2 separate regions of the Homo sapiens genome follow, and region 2 is linked to region 1. The links are contacts of gene promoters, found by promoter capture Hi-C in blood cells and fetal thymus (Javierre and others, 2016). All regions are on one chromosome and are shown on one strand. Each heading gives the region's core, a stretch centred on a gene start or on the middle of the fragment in contact. The rest is flanking DNA. Distances are from core to core; before and after follow the strand shown. Region 1 holds the start of ARMCX5 (armadillo repeat containing X-linked 5). Region 2 overlaps ARMCX5-GPRASP2 (ARMCX5-GPRASP2 readthrough).

Evidence for each region. The method cuts DNA at HindIII sites, captures the fragments that hold promoters and counts their contacts. A CHiCAGO score of 5 or more calls a contact.
Region 2: a contact is called between a fragment that was not itself captured here and the fragment with the promoter of ARMCX5 in region 1, in 1 of 17 cell types (megakaryocytes). The highest score is 6.4, in megakaryocytes.

Annotation. Positions count from the first base shown.
Region 1 is chrX:102,597,589-102,601,278 of GRCh38, forward strand. It overlaps ARMCX5 (armadillo repeat containing X-linked 5), which reads left to right and starts at 1,927. Exons shown (of 4, transcript NM_001168478.2): 1 at 1,927-2,259; 2 at 3,332-3,444. ARMCX5-GPRASP2 (ARMCX5-GPRASP2 readthrough) reads left to right here and starts at 1,927. Exons shown (of 19, transcript NR_146584.3): 1 at 1,927-2,259. RefSeq lists enhancers at 1,973-2,744, 2,177-2,226. The HindIII fragment of the contact is 9,703 bases long and covers 1-3,690 here.
Region 2 is chrX:102,828,125-102,832,135 of GRCh38, forward strand. All of the region lies in intron 10 of ARMCX5-GPRASP2 (ARMCX5-GPRASP2 readthrough), which reads left to right. The region is part of intron 2 of LINC00630 (long intergenic non-protein coding RNA 630); the gene reads left to right. Among named protein-coding and RNA genes, the nearest start is that of LINC00630, 61 kb to the left of the region's middle. The HindIII fragment of the contact is 6,254 bases long and covers 1-4,011 here.

The DNA.
Region 1 (3,690 bases), core at 677-3,176:
CCTGACTTCAAACTATACTACAAGGCTACAGTAACCTTGTAGAACAGCATGGTTCTGGTACAAAAACAGACACATAGACCAGTCGAACAGAATAGAGAACTCAGAAATAAGACTGCACATATACAGCTATTTGATCTTCGACAAACCTGACAAAAACAAGCAATGGGGAAAGGATTACCTATTTAATAAATGGTGCTGGGAAAACTGGCTAGCCATATGTAGAAAACTGAAACTTGACCCCTTGCTTACACCTTATACAAAATTTAACTCAAGATGGATTAAAGACTTAAATGTCAAACTCAAAACTATAAAAACCCTGGAAGAAAATTTAGGCAATACCATTCAGGACACAGGCACAGGCAAATTGCCAAAAGCAATTGCAACAAAAGCAAAATTTGACAAATGGGATCTAATTAAACTAAAGAGCTTCTGCACAGAAAAAGAAACTATCATCCGAGTGAACAGGTAACCTACAGAAGAGAAAATTTTTGCAGTCTATCTATCTGACAAAGGTCTAATATCCAGAATCTACAAGGAACTTACATTTACGAGAAAAAAACAAACAACCCCATTAAAAAGTGGGCAAAGGACATGAACAGACACTTCTCAAAAGAAGACATTTATGTGGCCAACAAACACATGGAAAAAAGCTCAACATCACTGATCATTAGAGAAATGCAAATCAAAATCACAATGAGATACCATCTCACACCAGTCATAACGGCAATTAATACAAAGTTAAGAAACAAGAGATGCTGGCAAAGTTGCAGAGAAATGGGAACGCTTTTACATTGGTGGGAATGTAAATTAGTTCAACCATTGTGGAAGACGGTGTGGCAATTCCTCAAATATCTAGAACCAGAAATACCATTTGACCCAGCAATCCCATTACTGGGTATATACCCAAAGGAATATAAATCATTCTATTACAAAGATACACGCACACGTATATTCATTGCCGCACTATTCACAATAGCAAAGACGTGGCATCAACCCAAATGCCCATCAGTGATAACATTAAGAAAATGTGGTGCATATACACCATGAAATACCATGCAGCCATAATAAAGAATGAGATCATGTCCTTTGTAGGGACATGGATCGAGCTGGAAGCCATTATCCTCAGCAAACTAATGCAGCAACAGAAAACAAATACTGCATGTTCTCCCTTATAAGTGGAAGCTGAACAATGAGAACACATGTACACAGGGAGGGGAAAAACACGCACTGGGACCTGTCAGGGGTTGTGGGGGGCGGTGAGGGAAAGCCTTAGGAAAAATAGCTAATGCATGCCAGGCTTAATACCTAGGTCATAGGTTGATTGGTGCAGCAAGCCACCACGGCACACGTTTGCCTATTTAACAAACACGCACATCCTGCACATGTATCCTAGAACTTAAAAAAAAAAAAAAGAAAATGAAAATTAAGGGCTGGGAGGGAGGACTCGAAGGAACACAAAGTTTGTGGAATCGATTAGTATGTATCCTCCTATCTCAGTCTTGACTCTCTTTGCTGACTTTCCTACCCTGGGCCCCACCCCGAGACCGCCCATTTCAGTGGGCCTCTGTGTTTGGAGAACGAACTTCGAAAGACTGGAACACTTCCGCCTGTCAGGCCAGAAGAGATTTCCTGACACCACAGCTGGAAACCCATGTGCATTTCAGTTCAGGAAAGAATGGTAGGCTTGGTGGGGGGAGCTCCCGCAAAAGGGGAACTAATACAGAAACACTCTGGTATTTGTCTGCCTCTCTTGTTCCAGCGCCGTTTTCCCTATATCCGGAATTCGTCCCTGCGCATTCCAATACCTGAAGCGGCCACAGGGTACAGGACAGGGAGCCCTCCGACAGAAAAGAGTCGCGGCGCTAAACAAAGCCTGATATCACTCCGCTTCCATAAGCCGGATCCCCATAAACTACGCTCTAGCTCCTCCCACTGCCGTTGTGGGTAACGCGGACGTGGAAGAACCTCGTCTGCGGAGGAAAAGGTAGATGTTAAATGGTAACTACGCGCGAGGTTCTGAGGAGCCCTGGGAACAGGAAGGAGAAAAGAATACCAAAAGTGACAACAGTTTGCCAATCGCAGTCTTTAATCTGATAAAGCGGTTATCTCGTCTTGAGTCCCAGGTGCCGAGTCAATCCCCATACACAGCCGCCGCCATTGCCTCGAGTCCTTGTGTCTGACTGTCTGTTCCTGCTGCTGTATGACACAGCACCTCGAGGCAAGGAAATAAGAAAACTGCCTCTGATCCAAGCAGAGAAGGTCAGTGAGAAGGTGCGCATCGCTTGGGGGTGGATGTGGGTATCAGAGGTGAACACTGGATACGCGACCTGGTCATGGGAGGCGGGCGGTGAGAAGGAGAGAGAGATGGGTAATTGGAATGGCACACAACAATTAAAAAAAAATGATCTACCTTTTGCTAGCTTGATTTCCATACACTCGGTTCACCTCAGACCATGCTTGGGAAGAAAAAGGTTGCAGCTTCTAGCAGGGAAAAGGCAGACTAGATGAGGAAGAGAGGGCTACTTCCACAGGCGAGGACAGTTGTCTGGGGAGCCCTGAGAGGGAGAGAATGTAAAAAGAGGTTGTAAATGTTTGATAATCAAGGCTCTGGATTTGAAAAGGGTCTCATGTCTTGGTTACTGGTCTGACCATTAATAACCACGTCTCTCTCTCTGTCTTTTCATTTGTTCTTTGGGTGTGTATCACGCGTTTTTATGTGTAAATCTGTTCCTAAGTTTGCAGCACTCCATGTTTCTGTAAAGATCTGTAGGGGACAGCAGACCTCAAGGGGAGAGGAGAAGGAAAAGAAAATTGGCCTGGTTTGTACAGAGTGGGCAGTACTTGGGAGGCAGTACTTGGAGGTGGTAGATGGCTAAGATTAGAGTAGGCAGGAGTGTAAGGGAGCCTCCAGAACTCTCTGCCAGCTTTCCTAACATGTCCTCCCTTACCCGCATTATGTTGCAGAAAATGATAGGCTTTGGGAGAGAGGAAGGAAACATAGGAACCCAGATGAAATATGGAAATAAATACTTTTCATTTTTTCCCCAGCCTCCGTGGTTTGTCTAGGCATTTCGTCCCTACTAACACCACTACTACTACCTTGTAGGGATGTTTGAGTTGTCTCTGTATAGGAATTGTCAGACTTTGAGAATAGAGCAGAGGGGCTTGGAGATTTAGGAGTGGGAGAAAAAGGGGAGATAGAAAATGTTTGCCAAACAGGTACTTATATCCAGAAAGAAACTGTGCCCTAGGTGCTGGTCTCTACCAAAAACAGCCTCAACTGTCTCCTGTGTCTTCATTTATTGGTCTCTGTTTTTGTGAATCCCTGTAGGTAGATCTGTCCCCAGGTCTGTGGAACTGTCAGTTGTGAAGTTTTGTAAAATGGTCACCCAACTTAAAACTAGGAAATTACGAAGAAGAGAAAATTGCCCTGTATCTGTTAAGGTTGGTGTAAAGGTACAGGGACAGGGGGGCAACTTCGACTAGAGAATTCCATCTCTTCTGTTTTGTCATTTTACCAATTATTCCCATCTGCCCCACCCCCTGCTGCTGCTGATTTAGTTGGGAGTCTTGGTAAGTTGTGGGGGTACAGAATGCTAAGCTGCCTTTCCCACTCTCCACTGCTTGTCCTGCTCTCACGCTTGAACCTAGTCTAATCTGAACGAGGGACATTCTAGGGCAATCACTGAA
Region 2 (4,011 bases), core at 597-3,096, 230 kb after region 1:
CCACATTTTCTTAATCCAGTCTATCATTGTTGGACATTTGGGTTGGCTCCAAGTCTTTGCTATTGTGTGAATAGTGCTGCAATAAACATACGTGTGCATGTGTCTTTATAGCAGCATGATTTATAATCCTTTGGGTATATACCCAGTAATGGGATGGCTGGGTCAAATGGTATTTCTAGTTCTAGATCCCTGAGGCATCGCCACACTGACTTCCACAATGGTTGAACTAGTTTACAGTCCCACCAACAGTGTAAAAGTGTTCCTATTTCTCCACATCCTCTCCAGCACCTGTTGTTTCCTGACTTTTTAATGATCACCATTCTAACTGGTGTGAGATGGTATCTCATTGTGGTTTTGATTTGCATTTCTCTGATGGCCAGTGATGATGAGCATTTTTTCATGTGTCTTTTGGCTGCATAAATGTCTTCTTTTGAGAAGTGTCTGTTCATATCCTTTGCCCACTTTTTGATGGGGTTGTTTGTTTTTTTCTTGTAAATTTGTTTGAGTTCATTGTAGATTCTTATTCCAGGACATATTTAAGACATAAAGTTGGATCATTATGTTTCCATTTGGTAATTTAAATGTGAAATATGCCATTTATAGGAAAATAAAATATGGAAAATGAAAAATAATCTAACATTCCAACAAAAGTATATCACATTAGCAAATATTAATAATATAGTGAAACCCATTATTTGTACAGATCTTGGAAAATGAGTATTCATATCTTGTATTTCATTGTGACAAATTAGCAAAGAGATTTTAAGGTGAATTAGACAAATGTTTAATATTCATGCTTTTTGAGGAAGCAGTCCCACTTGTGGAAACTTATACTCTGGTTAACAGCCTGAGAGGTCCTTGCCATCATCAATCATGTGTCCCTCCTGCTCAGTGCTGAGCTGACCATTTGCCTAATTGGCTTGGTGCCTTAAGGACTCCCTGACCCTGTTCCATCCATCCTTTTATCCAAAGAGAAAAATAGGTCTCATGGCTGGATGCCCAATTTCAATGGACCTTGGGGTTGGATCAAACCCAAGGGTTGATATGGAGCAGTGCTCAGATCCTTACTCCTGGAGGGACAAGTAGATCTCTGGCCTCATCCCTATTTGGGATAAATCTCTCTTCCTCTCCTTTCTCTATGTCCTCAGAGGCCTTCCCTTTCCTACCAGATAACAAGCAGTCCAATCTTTCCCTTAAGTTTAAGTTTCCTAAAGAATGGAAGAAACTGGATTCAGACATCTTTGGCTCCCAACCCTGTCATAAACCTCCCCTAAGGCAAGGGGAAGGAACACCAAGCCTGGTTCCTTGCTGGAAATGCAAGGAGGGTAAACACAGGGAGGACAGACATTAACTTCCTTAACAGTGTGTGTCCAGATACATTTGCTAAAGATCTGCCACCAGCACTTAAGGTGCCCAGGTTGCCAGCTACTATCTCTGGCTCTCTCAGTTTCTGTGGTAATCAAATCCTTTGCCATTCTACTTTGCCCTTGCTCATCTGTAAAAGGGGACTCACAATGCCTTTCTTAGACAAATTTTCTGTGGGGTAAATGAGAAATCCCATACAGAGTAGATGGCACCTAGTAGAACTTCAACGAATGGTCATCCAGGCCCACCTTTTTCCTCCCTCCCAGAGAAGTGATGACTGTTATCTAAACCAAGCAGCATAATTGCCACAGAGACCACCTGGAAGGAGAGCAGGAAGATGGAGCATGTGCTCACACTTACATTATACATGGACCTTTGGGGCCATTTCTGTGTTGCAGGATGGTTTGCTGAGGTATTGGAGTGAGATGAGAAGATCGTCAAACCAATCCCCTATCATTTTCTGCCCCCTCATTTGATCTGCTACGTTGATTTGGAAAAGCAGTTTCTATTGAGCCTCAAATGAAGAGAGAGTGCAGATGAAGAGGAGGCAGGAGTCATAAGCCTTTGACCCTTATACCAGACCCATTACCACCTATAGGACCTTGCACTGGGATTTCATCTGCACGATCAGCTCTTTCAAAGAGAGAGAGGTTGTTGAGTGAGTACCCACAAGGGCATAATCCTGGCAACATAAAAAACTGCAAGTGTTTGGCTGGGCGTGGTGGCTCATGCCTGTAATCCCAGCACTTTGGGAGGCTGAGGCGGGCGGATCACAAGGTCAGGAGATCGAGACCATCCTGGCTAACACAGTGAAACCCCATCTCTACTAAAAATATGAAAATTAGCCAGGTGTGGTGGCGGGCGCCTGTAGTCCCAGTTACTCGGAAGGCTGAGGCAGGAGAATGGCGTGAACCCGGGAGGCAGAGCTTGCAGTGAGCCGAGATTGCGCCACTGCACTCCAGCCTGGGCAACAGAATGAGACTCCGTCTCAAAAAATATACATAAAATAAATAAAAATTAAAAAAAAAACTACAAGTGTTTAAGTCTTAGACGGTCATCCACTATAAAAGGAGACAATGTGTTGTCCTTTGAGGAGAGTGAGAGTTACATCCCTGCTCCTGATCATTACTAGATGCCTCTGCAAAATTGATTTTCCATCAGTGAGTCTTAGTTGGTCATCTGTAAACTGGAAATAATGATGCCTTCCTTATAGACTTGGAGAGAATTATGCAAAATATGTAATTGTACATTTTTGGCTATAAATATTTGTGCTATTGTAGAGTAAGTGCCCTTTTGCACCTTTTTCCCCTCTGAAAATAGTGTTTCTGAGATTAATAACGTGATTTTGGGGCTGTTTAGATATTATGAATCCTGACCATTTTTGTACCATTGCCCAGGCTGCTTGATTCTATCCCTGGCTCCATTAGTTTGTGTGGTGAGCAAACTCTTTGCCATCCAGCTCTGTGCTTAGGAGCAAGTGCGCTGTAGTCATATACATCCATGAAGAGAGCATAATTGTACCTCACTAGTAGGGTTGTCATGAGAATTAAATTCAATCACTAAAGTGAAGAACATGGAGCTGGACCCTCTAAACAATGTGTTCTATCAATATTAGTTGCCTTTCCTCTCTGGATCAGAAAACTAATGTGGCTCCTAACCTGACCCCTCAGGTAGGACTCCTTCACTTGCATGCATGTCAGAATTAGCTTGGAGATCTTTTCTAAACCTTTAGCAGAAACTCACTTGTTGTTGGAAATAAGACTTCTATATCAAAGTCCATTCAAGTGATTAAGCCATAGTAATATGGGCCTCAGAAAGTAGATATTCCATTTGACACCTAAAGTGTTATGTGAAAACTCATTTCCCCTCCATTCCATCTGTTCCAGGTATGACCAGCTTTTGCCTTTACTGCCACTCTGATCGCTCATTTCCTTAGACCTGCCCATTGAAAGAGCTCTCTCAGATAATTGTTAACTTAGAGATTCACAGCTCTTGTTCCTCTGTGGTGTCTCCTGTTTCAAGAGCCCAACATGAAAATATGGCATGCTTCTATGATGTTAACGTGCTGATAAAATGAGAGGACACAAAATAGCTTATTATCTGGAAATAGGATGCTGATTATTATCCCTGACCCCAAATGTCATGAATGAGATGATGAGATGGCAAGTGACTGATGATGCTCTATTCTTCACAAGATGCCATCAGCTGGAGATGGAAGCCCCAGTGTGGGTTCCTGGGGCTGCCTCTACTTCCTTCACTCCCTGAATTATTTTCTGTGGACTAAGATTTGTGCTCCGTTTATGGCTCTGATGGCATTGGTGTGTGCTTTCTGGGAAGTAGGAATGGGGAAGAATGCTAGGGAGGTGTCAGCTGTTAGGGAAGCCCTGAGAGGAGGGGATCCTGATGTAAGAGAGGATTGAAAACCATGGCCCTAAGTCAGGTTAGTCTGGCATGCATGTGATGTCTAATAATAAGGGGGGTGGCACACTTCCCCTCCTAAGAGGCACCTGAATTTCCTGTGAGGGGATGTCCCTGCCATGTTTGTGTGCCTTGGAAACTGACTTCTGACACTGTAAGGACAGCATTAGTGTTGTCAGAAGGCTGGGTGGTGGGGTGAGGGTGGGGGAAGATTGAATCCTCAGAGCA